4 separate regions of the Homo sapiens genome follow, and regions 1, 3 and 4 are each linked to region 2. Evidence: promoter capture Hi-C in 16 types of primary human blood cells and fetal thymus (Javierre and others, 2016). All regions are on one chromosome and are shown on one strand. The core of a region is centred on a gene start or on the middle of the fragment in contact, and the rest is flanking DNA. Distances in the headings are between cores, read along the strand shown.

Evidence for each region. Contacts are between HindIII fragments. The CHiCAGO score rates a contact against its expected background, and 5 or more counts as called.
Region 1: a contact is called between a fragment that was not itself captured here and the fragment with the promoter of TMEM245 in region 2, in 4 of 17 cell types (naive CD8 T cells, non-activated CD4 T cells, activated CD4 T cells and 1 more). The highest score is 10.9, in naive CD8 T cells.
Region 3: a contact is called between a fragment that was not itself captured here and the fragment with the promoter of TMEM245 in region 2, in 1 of 17 cell types (naive CD8 T cells). The highest score is 5.0, in naive CD8 T cells.
Region 4: a fragment that was not itself captured here is called in contact with the fragment with the promoter of TMEM245 in region 2 in 2 of 17 cell types (total CD4 T cells and activated CD4 T cells); the score reaches 5.7 in total CD4 T cells.

The regions. Positions count from the first base shown.
Region 1 is chr9:86,279,143-86,281,842 of GRCh38, forward strand. All of the region lies in intron 1 of ISCA1 (iron-sulfur cluster assembly 1), which reads right to left. It overlaps LOC124902194 (a long non-coding RNA gene), which reads right to left. Exons shown (of 2, transcript XR_007061634.1): 2 at 1-2,311. Among named protein-coding and RNA genes, the nearest start is that of ISCA1, 2.0 kb to the right of the region's middle. The HindIII fragment of the contact is 1,224 bases long and covers 817-2,040 here.
Region 2 is chr9:109,118,654-109,121,353 of GRCh38, forward strand. It overlaps TMEM245 (transmembrane protein 245), which reads right to left and starts at 1,294. Exons shown (of 18, transcript NM_032012.4): 1 at 682-1,294. The coding sequence starts at 1,260. RefSeq lists silencers at 624-733, 1,084-1,253, 1,394-1,443 and an enhancer at 924-973. The HindIII fragment of the contact is 5,277 bases long and covers 152-2,700 here.
Region 3 is chr9:83,697,902-83,700,601 of GRCh38, forward strand. The region is part of intron 1 of UBQLN1 (ubiquilin 1); the gene reads right to left. Among named protein-coding and RNA genes, the nearest start is that of UBQLN1-AS1, 8.6 kb to the right of the region's middle. The HindIII fragment of the contact is 2,010 bases long and covers 401-2,410 here.
Region 4 is chr9:83,966,165-83,968,864 of GRCh38, forward strand. It overlaps HNRNPK (heterogeneous nuclear ribonucleoprotein K), which reads right to left. Exons shown (of 17, transcript NM_031263.4): 17 at 1,919-2,700. Among named protein-coding and RNA genes, the nearest start is that of MIR7-1, 2.3 kb to the right of the region's middle. The HindIII fragment of the contact is 545 bases long and covers 1,064-1,608 here.

The DNA of each region.
Region 1 (2,700 bases), core at 179-2,678, about 23 Mb before region 2:
AGCATTTCCTAGCTTCTCAACTGGACTCCAATAGAAAGTTAAGCCCTAAGGCACCTTCCGTACACAATGAATTCATCAAGAATGATAGTGGCTGTGCACCATCATTCTCTCATAGAACTTGGTTGAGTTTTAATGCACAGCTGTGATCCACCCCAGTCCTACAAATTAGAGTTGCTCTGACTTGTACAATGATGGAAATAAATCTGTCTGCAAGCAGGGCACTATTTACTCTTCAGATTCTTTAATCACATCTGGCTCCTGCAAGTTCAATTCCACTTGTCAATTTCTAGATATGTAGGGAAATAGGGAAGATGTAGATAATCTGATAATGACAGCATTGAACTGTGTTATATTATCAGTTACTTTTCCTAGCCTTTTGTTGACATCTGGTAGACTCCACACATATAGCACTTTTCAAATGTTGCAACATGTCAAATTCCTAACATCAAAATTTATATATCCAGGTAACATTTATCCCTTCCAATCAGTTTTACTGAATTAGGTATACTTGTGTTTGCTCTTATCTGTCTCTACTTATTAGACCCAAGTAACATTTACCTCTTCCAATCAGTTTTACTGAATTACGTATACTTTTGTTTGCTCTCTTATCTGTCTCCATTCATTAGGCCTTTGACGGCATCACTACTTTTGCACTTGACGATACATGCTGATGATAAACTAAGCACAAAGAGCAATACATGCCATAGTGTCCTGACTAGGGCACGAATGCTGGAACTAAAATGACTGCAAGCCCACCAACACAGGCTGTGTGGAAAACAGCATTGATGTGCCTTCTCTCTGGTACAGCTTCTGAGAAGCTTCTAAAGTCAGCCATACTTAAGTAGGACAACAGAGTACAGACAGTAGACTCCTGCAAGTTAATCAAAACAGCTGAGTCAGGCAACATGGATACCTTGAGAACTGCTATGATAACATGTACTGAAGCAGAGGGGAGCAAGTGTGGAGAGAGACCAAGCCTGAGAATGTGCAGTGCTATTACTCCTAGTAAGAGGTGGCAAAGGCTTGGCCTGCGACTGTGCCCCGTAGGCTGGGAACTGTATAACTCATTCATTTGTCTTGAAACACAGCAGATCTTGATAAATGTCTGCTGAATGACTAGGAATGGAGAGAAAGGGACTGACATAGAAATTCTGAAGGAAGGGCAAGGCACGGTGGCTCATGCCTGTGATCCCAGCACTTTGGGAGGCTGAGACGAGTGGATCACGAGGTCAGGAGTCCAAGACCAGCCTGGTGAAGATGGTGAAACCCCATCTCTACTAAAAATACAAAAATAAATAAATAAATAAGCTGGGCATGGTGGTGGGCGTCTGTAATCCCAGCTACTCAGGAGGCTGAGGCAGAGAGTTGCTTGAACTCAGTAGGCAGAGGCTGCAGTGAGCTGAGATCACGCCACTGCACTCCAGCCTGGGCAACCCAGCGAAACCCTGTCTCAAAAAAAAAAAAAAAAAAAAGAAATTCTGAAGGAAGAGGTAACATGTCAAATGGTGATGGAGAAAGACATCAGGGACCAGGCATGGTGGCTCACACCTGTAATCCCTGCACACTGGGAGCCTGAGGCAGTGGACTGCTTGAGCCCAGGAGTTCGAGACCAGCCTGGGCAACCCAGGGAGACCCTAGGTGCATGCATGACGGTGCACACCGGTGGTCCCAGCGACTTGGGAGCCTGAGGTGGGAGGATCGCTTGGGCCCAGGAGGTTGACGCTGCAGTGTGCCATGATTGCACCACTGAACTACAGCCTGGGAGATAGAGTGAGACCCTGTCTCCAAAAACAAAACAAACAAAAACAAACAAACAAACAAAAAACAAAAAACAAAAAACCCAGTTAATAGGGTTGCTAAAAAGCAAAAAAGAAAAGGCAAAAACTGTTCCTGAACCTTCTGGCTCTTCCTGGATCTACCATTACCAGTGGAAGAATTCTGAATAATTCTTACTGAGATTGAAAGAGACACAAAGAATGAGTTGTGCCCTCTAGTTCTTAAAACCTTGTTTAATTCTACATCCCACGGTGTATGAAAATAAGCTTGCTCCTACAGAAAAGAGGTAATATAGAATGATACATAATCAGTACACTAGTAGTACCATATATAATCAGGGTAATATCAAAGGCCTAAAAAATTGATTATAAAAATAAATTCTCTCACCTGATCACAATTTTCTTCTACTTTGCTACAAACTTATTTTCTGGTAATAGGCCCTTTTGGCATTAGATGCAACAGAATCGATGAGTCAATTTAAATCGTTTTTTTTCCCAGTCTCTAAGCGAATGGTTGCATAAAGTCGTCTCCTTCACTAAAAGGGGAGTGTATGTAGGAACGTGATCATAAATTTTTCTTTTGGGGTGAAAGTATTTTGGAACTAGATAGAGGTGATGGTTGCACGACACTGTGAATGTCTTAAATGGCACTGAATTGTACCCTTTAAAAGGACTAATTTTATGTTATGTGGATTTTCCTTCCACTAAAAAACTGAACGGTGCGGCCGGAACACTGAGCTCAGTGAATTCTCTAAGTAATCAATGGTTGCACTCTGGTGCCCTCTGAGTGTTTGACCTTTCACCCAGAAAAGGCTGTAAACTCACTCTGGGAAATCATCTTTTGTCCTAAGAGCCTAGGCTTGCTAGAGGCACAGAGGGAGTTTCAAAGGCCTCAATCACCCAGGACACCGGCAAGTAACGCTTT
Region 2 (2,700 bases), core at 44-2,543:
GTGCTGTGGTACACCAGTCCCTGCACAACAAAAGCAGTTACCTAAAAGTAAAGCGTGGAGAGGAAGAAGCACAGGCAGCTCAGCACCCAGTGCCTTGCACAAATTATACAGGAATCACCTGAACTGAGAGGCAGCACCAGCCAGTGAAGCAAGCTTTGTTTTAGGACTTGTAAGAAATCTAAGACACCCAAACCCCTCTTTGTCCCTAAGTAGCCCTAGCCTGGTAAGAGGTCACCTTTCCTATCTGCAGGATGGCAAGTTGGCCTAGAATCTCTAAGGTCCCTTCCAGCTCTGACATTCAGATGCGCAGAACTGAGGGTGGCCGAAGCACCCCCGCCCTCTCCAACCAGAAGTAAAACCAAGCCCCACTGCCATGCTCTGAGGCCTCTCTCTGCAAAGCGAAATAACGATTCTCAATCCAGGGCACTGTCCCCCTAAGAGGGCCTATTAGGATTGAAACAAGGCGAAAAGCAGGGAGGCTGTTTCAAATCACGCCCGCCCCCTTTTTGGAAGAATGTCCGCCAAATTCCTGAGGTGTGAGAAGGAAAGCGGAGACGGACGGTCACTGCAGCACAGGTGTGGCCCCTCGTCGCCCCTGCACCGGGAGGAACAGCTGCAGGATTGCACCCCAGAGCGCCGGGACCACGGGCGGGGGACGGGGGCGGACTGCCGCTCACTCACCCACAGGCTGCTGAAGTAGTCCAGCCCGCGGCAGATGAGCGTGGCAGCGTGCACCAGCAGCACCTGCACGCCCAAGTAGCTGCCGAGGCAGTAGAGGCCGTACAGGAGCGGGCCGCCGGCGCCGAGCAGCAGGAGCAGGCGGCGGCGGCGCAGCGCCTGCTCGCCCAGGGCCTCGACGCCGTAGTCGACGAAGCAGAGCGGCAGGAGCAGCGCGGCCAGGACGATGGGCGTGTGCGCGCGGTGCAGGCGCTGCAGCCAGTGGCGGCCCAGGCGCGTCAGCGAGCTCTTGAAGGGGTGCAGAAAAGTGCCGCATAGCACGGCCCAGAGCAGCGGCCGCAGGAAGGCCTCCAGGATGAAGTAGACCAGCACCGCGGCGCCGCAGCACAGGCACACGAACAGCACGGCCCCGGTGTTGTAGAAGGCCTGCTTAATGGGCTTGTCGAAGCGCAGCGCCAGCGCCGCGGTCCGCGGGGTCTCCCCGCCACCGCCACTCGGCCCGACCGCGCGCGGGACCCGCGGCGCCGGCCCGGGAGAGCTCCGCAGGCTTGGCGCGTCCTTAGGGCCGCCGCCGTCGGCCATCGTTCCTCCGCCACAGCCGCCCCCGAGGGGCGGTAATGGGAGTCGGGCTAGAAACGCGGGCGGGAGGCAGGGCGGGAGGCGCGCGAGATTGTGGGAGTTGTAGTTCCCCGCTGGTTTACAGACCCACCAAGCGCTTGCAGGAAACTACAACTCCCGAAGGGGAAATGGGGAAAACGCCTCCGCCTCCTTGGTGTCCGCAAGGTCCTGCTAACAAGTTTGCAGGGTCTATATCTTCCTGGAGGGGGGGGGGGGGGGAAGCTCCTTTCACTCATTCGTTAATGTCAATTTCTCGCGAGGCGAGATCCCAAAAGGCGCCACATTCAGATATTAAAACCCAAGCTGCATACTAGAATACCGTGGGGGAGTACTTTTAAAGAACCAATGCCCCGATTCTGTTTTACTGATTTATTTAACAGATATTTTTAAAGTGTTTTCTTTGGTGTATCTGACAGGATTTTAAATAGAGATTACCATATAACAGGCCCTATTCTAAGTGGCTCACTCCTATTAACTCATTTAATCCTTAGAACAACCCTACAAAGAAGGTGTTATTATCCTCATTTTACCAACAGAAAAACTGAGACAGAGCCGTTAAGTACGCAGCCAGAGTCACACAGCTACCAAGTGGCACAGGCAAGATTCAAACTCAGGGATTCTGGCTCCAAAGGCTATACTTTTATCTACCATAGTATTTGGCCTGAGGAAAGAACTCTTGGCATTTTTCAAACGTTCCTCATAAGCCTGTAATTTGCAGCCGCTGTTGACAACTGTTTGTGCAGGTTTCGCTGTGGACGCAATCTAAACTCTTAAAAGAGTCGTAGATCAAAGTCTCAAACTGCCACTGTTTCTTTTTGAGACTTGATGTAATGTCAGTTAAGCCCCCAATCTCAAGTTTTCCTCTGTCACATGGCGATGATAATAATAATAGCTTTTGCTTTAGGGTTATTGTGTGGGGGAAGGGAAACTCTGGGGCGGTACAAGGTGCTTCTGTTCCCCTATTGGAAAAGTGCTGGGATCCAAGCCTGCTACCCATAAAATATCCCAATCAACATTTTGATTTAAAAAAAAAAAGAAAGCCTTGACTGAGTACTCAACATGTGATTGCTTCAAACCTTGCAAGTTGTCCCTTTCCTGTTTCAATAGTATTCCTATTAATTTCTACATAATTTTTGTTTCCCTTCTAAAGCAGACAAGACAGGTAACATAATCCACAGTTTGCAGATAAAGAAACTATTGCTTGATAGATTTGGAGACAAAGGGATTTAGTAAAGGAAGTAAAGGAAAAAGTAATTCCCTATCCATCTCGATTGTAAGTTTTAGGTCTCAGTATTTCAGATGGCCTTTGGAGTTTTATAACCAAAACGCAGGTTTAGTCGCTCACCACTTGCAGATTCCAATTAACAAGAGCAAGGTCTGGTATAAAGAAAGTGATGTATTCCA
Region 3 (2,700 bases), core at 156-2,655, about 25 Mb before region 2:
AATCTTGTATCTTTAGTAGAGACGGGGTTTCTCCATGTTGGTCAGGCTGGTCTCAAACTCCTGACCTCATGTGATCCACCCGCCTCGGCCTCCCAGAGTGCCGGGATTAGCAGCATGAGCCACCATGCCTGGCCAGCATCTTCATTTTTTAAAAAAAGGATAATAATAGTGCTTTCATCATAAAGTTATGTGACATTTTAAAAAAATATAATGCATCATGCCTTATAAATCATGCCTGCAATAAATATTGGCCATTATGTCATTGTCATTAACAGCATTTGCAAAGGTTCAAAAAGGGGAAGAAAGAGCCAGTGATATTTGAGGGTAGGGGAAGAGACAATACAAACTGGCTGAAATGCAATGAAAACAGGAGAAAAGGCAGGTGGAAGCACATCCTGAAAGCTTTATTAGCTGTGCTAATTCAGCAGTCACTAGCTACATATGGCTATTAAGCACCTGAAATGTGGCTACTTCAAACTGAGGTATGCTTAAGTGTAAATTACAAAATATATTTCAAAGACTTAGTATTTCAAAATGCAAGATATTTTATAGTCTTTATATCAATTGCACCTTAAAATATTTTAGACATACTGGGTTAAATAAAGCATATTAAAATTACAATAGCCAAAAGGTGGAAGCAACCCAAGCGACCAGCAACAGATCAATGGATTTTTAAAATGTGGTACATACATATAATGGAATATTATTCAGTCATACACAGTAAATTCTGGCTGGGTGCGGTGGCTCACACTTGTATAATCCTAGCATTTTGGGAGACCAAGGGGGCAGATCGCTTGAGCTCAGGAGTTTGAGACCAACCTGGGCAACATGGTGAAACCCTGTCTCTACAAAAAAATACAAAGTAGCCAAGCATGGTGATGTGAGCTTGCAGTCCCAGCTACTTGGGGGGCTAAGGCAGGAGGATCACTTGAACTTCAGGAGGTGGAGGCTGCAGCAAGCCATGATTGTGCCACTGCACTCCAGCCTGGGTGACAAAGTGAGACCTGTCTCAAAAAAAAAAAAAAAAGTAAATTCTGACACATGCTACAACATAAATGAACCTTGTGGACGTTATACTAAGGGAAATAAGTTAATCACAAAAGGCCAAACACTGTCTTATTCCACTTATATGAAATACCTAGAGTAGTCAAATTCAGAGACAGAAAGAAGAATGGTGGTTGCTAGAGGTGGGGGAATGGGGAAAATGGGGAGTTACTGTTTAAACGGTCCAGGGTTTCAGTTTTGCAAGATGAGTTCTGGAAACGGATGGTGGTAACAATTGTACAACAATGTGAATGTACTTAATGTCACTGAAGTGAACCCTTAAAAATGGTTAACATGATAAATTTTGTTATGTGTGAGTCACCACTATTGAAAAATTGACTTCAGTCCTTCCTTTTGATTAAAGTGGCTAATAGGAAAATTACATATGTGGCTCATACTGTTTTTTGTTTTTAAGAGACCAAGTCTCATTCTGTCACCACAGCTGGAATGCTGCGGTGCAATCATAGCTCAGTGTAACCTCCAAACTCCTGGGCTCAACCTTGCTGGACTAGCTGGGACTACAGGTGTGTGCCACCACACCTAGCTAAATTTTTATTTTTTTGTAGACAGGCTGGTCTCGAACTCCAGGAGGTGGGGGCTGCAGTGAGCCATGATCACTGAGCCATGGTGCTCAAGCAATCCTGCCACCTTGGCCCCGCAAAGTGTTGGGATTACAAGCATGAACCACTGAGCCCAGCTCACATTGTATTTCTATAAAAAATAAGTCATGGTAAAAATTTCCAATGAGAAGTGTTTTGATGAACAAGATATATTAACAGGAAGCCCTAATACCAGGGTAAGCAAACTTTCTGTTACGGGCTAGACAGTAAATATTTTTGGCTCTACCAGCCACATGGTCTATTCTGAAAGGAGCTATAGATAACACATAAGCAAATGGGCACAATAGATTTCGACTACCAGTTTGCTGGCCTCTGCCCTAAGGCACCCATTATAAGCAATGGCTCTTAAATTTTCATAAATTTTGTGAGCCAGTTTAATAACGGTATCTTGAAATCTGCCACAGTGAGAATATTTACATCATGGAAATCCAGCAAACACTACAAATCAGTGTTTTTCCTGAAGAACGGGTTGATAAACCAGCATTTACCAACAAACCACTCACTATGTAATGAATTAACTTCTCTCCTATACATCTAAAATTATATTCATTATGAACCATCTTTGAAAAGAAATGGATAGCTATTCATATCACTTTCTGTGCTCTGTGGTTCAGATGAGAATCTCCAGCTAAGAAAGGTGGTTCTAGAAGAGTAATGTTCCAGGCAGAGAAGCAAGAGTGAACATCATGAAGCAGTCAAGAGTTGTGCCTGGAGAGTGGTGACCTGGGGGGAACAGCTTAAGAGGAAGCTTCCACAAAAGGACTGGGAGCTACCAGATTATGTACATACTACACTCAGTAAAGGTTCAACAATAAGTAGTTATTACTGAATATGTATTATTGTACATAATGGACTAGATTCATCTGTAAATAATTTATTGAGCCCTAGGCTCTGGTAACACAATGGTGAACAATCACAGCCCCTCTCTAAAGAGAAGGAATCACATAAATATACAATTTTTAGTTGTGATGAATTCTTATCAAAAACAGGCTACTGTGAGAAATCCAACAGGGGATCCCAATCCAGTCTGGACAAT
Region 4 (2,700 bases), core at 86-2,585, about 25 Mb before region 2:
GCCTGAGCCAGGAGCCGAGATAGCACCACTGCACTCCAGCCTGGGCGACACAGCCAGACCATCTTTTTAAAAACAAAAATTCTTCTCCTTTTTTTGGTTCTCTTTAACATAAAAACTTACTGGATTGAGACAGGGTCTGTCACCCAGGCTGTAGTGCAGTAGTGCCATCAAGGTTCACTGCAGCCTCCACTTCCCGGGCTCAGGCGATCCTCCCACCTCAAGCCTCCTAACTGGGACTACAGGTACGCGCCACCATGCTTGGCTAATTTTTTGTAGAGATGGGGTTTCACCATATTGCCCAGGCTGTCTCAAACTCTTGGGCTCAAGCCATCTGTCCACCTTGGCCCCCAAAATGCTGGGGTTACACGTGTGAGCCACTGCACCGAGGCTAATTAAATTTACTTCGAATCACAGCAATCTGAAGCAATTCATTACCTAATTCACGTGGAACGGTAGTAATTGAGTACTAAAAAACCTTAAAACTAATGAAAGGGTTTTTTAAAAGGAAATTTTGCTGTTTGGTTTGATTTTCTTTGCTATTAGATCAGATTTAGTATTTTACATTATATGTCTCAGTACAATAAAACAAAGGCAAACAAAATTTGAATAGTAGGGAAAGGTTTTAAATTCTTGAGATAACTAGTACAACTTGGTTTCTGTCTGTTGGCATTTTGGTAATTAACTTACAAAAAGTTAGGCTAAATTTTTGAAACTAAGTCAGCATTATACACCAGTAACTTCTTACAAAATTGTCTCAATATTCCATTTAATTAAAGAGCTTATGTTCACTTCTCCCACCCTTTGTGAAAATTCTCCCAACCTGTCCCAATTCTCACCCAAATTTTAAATACCATTTACCAATCAATAGCAGTGGCAATGCAAAAGGCCCCTCTCCCTCCCAAAGCTGTATATCAAAGATATCAATACCAGATATTCTTCAATCCATTAAGTCTTCAGTAGAATGATGTGTTTAAGGTCTGAAATTATTGTAAAATGCAAAAGTGAAAACATTTGCAGCTAATGGTCCATGTGTTACATAACTCATTTACAGGTAACAGATAAAAGCTTTGGAAGCCAGTGTTCTCTCCAGGGATGCTTTCCTTCAGTAGGATTAACAATTTGACTAAAGTGTCCTTGTCATTTTTCTTTAGGGGTAAGGGCTCATTTCACCCTGAGCAACCCCAACTCAACCACACTGGGGAAACCATACCACAGGTAGCATTCACTAGTTTTAAGTAATATTTTGACATTTACTTCATGTTCTTCATTAATCAAAAGATCACTCTACGTCCCTCCCCAAACTAAATGTCACTCAACTCTACTTCCCTTAAAAGACATTATTCTGTTCATACTATTAATACTTACATGAATTCTAGAACTGCCCAACTGTTACTTTTATTATACACAAGCCTCTGACCTAAATTCAATAATTACATTCATGACTCCTTTCCTATATAGTTGTTCATCTGTTTTGAGGCAGGAAGATTGCTTGTGCCCAGAAGATGGAGGTTGCAGTGAGCCAAGATTATGCCACTGCACTCCAGCCTGGGAAAAACAGCAAGACACTGTCTCAAAAAACAAAACAAAACAAAACAAAAACAGTTTTCAAGCTTTCTGGACAGCTGGAGGTTAATAAGTAGTACTTCAGAAATATGAGCCGGGAACCATACTCTGCAGTTATTTTACATTATCTCCGATATTCTCAAACATCAAACTAAAGCTATTTTAGAGAAAGGAACCAAGTAACTCACTCAAAATTTCTCATAGGTAATGAGGAAAGCTCTGGCTGACTATAAGAAAAAAAAAATTGGATGACTAGGCTCTCATTTTGCTAAATTACCACGTTAATTATGAGCCCAACTACCACCCCTGCCAGCTTTCACTTATAAATGCTAGAAAAACACTTCACACAAAAAAATACATAAGATTACTATATTTCCTTTTAAGAGGAACGTTTCAACAAATTTTACAGGTGTCAATCAACCCTTGTTCAAATCGGGCACACATCAAATCTAGCATCATGGGTGTTTTATTTATTTGGAAGTGAATTTTAACTATCAATACAAATGCCAAGATACTACACAAAACATCCACAGGAACTTTTTTCATCTTTTTTTTTTTTGAATTGTACACAAACATTTCCTACATAATCCAACATACAACAGAGAAATGGTACATCTTTTTCTTTCAATTTGCATACAATGGAAAAACAAGTATATATATATTTTACAAAGTTTAACTAATAAGACACTAGAGCAAATTGACAGTTTAAGTCTATAGGTGAGAAATTATCTAATAAAAATAATCAATTTTTTCAGCATTAGTCACTTCCATAACCAAGTGTTATTCTGATTAATAAAACTTGCTGCCAATCAGAATTCTGGTATATACTCATACCATTACTCAACTTGTAGTACTGCTCCCCACCTTAGTTCTTCACAACTAACATAGAAAATTGTTGAAAAGTAGGGGCAAGCATTTGCAAAAACAAACAAAAAATCCCCAGCTTATTATAAGCATGAATATGTATGATGGAATTTCTTCCCAGCAATAGACTTCCAAACCATCAAGAAATCACCAGAACTAAGTTTGCCAAGTTATTTTGCCTATGTCCAACAAGAGATGCACTTATATGTCCAACAGAGGAGCTGAAAATTAAACTTAGTGTTTAGTTTGGGGGTGGGTTGGGAAATTCAGCCA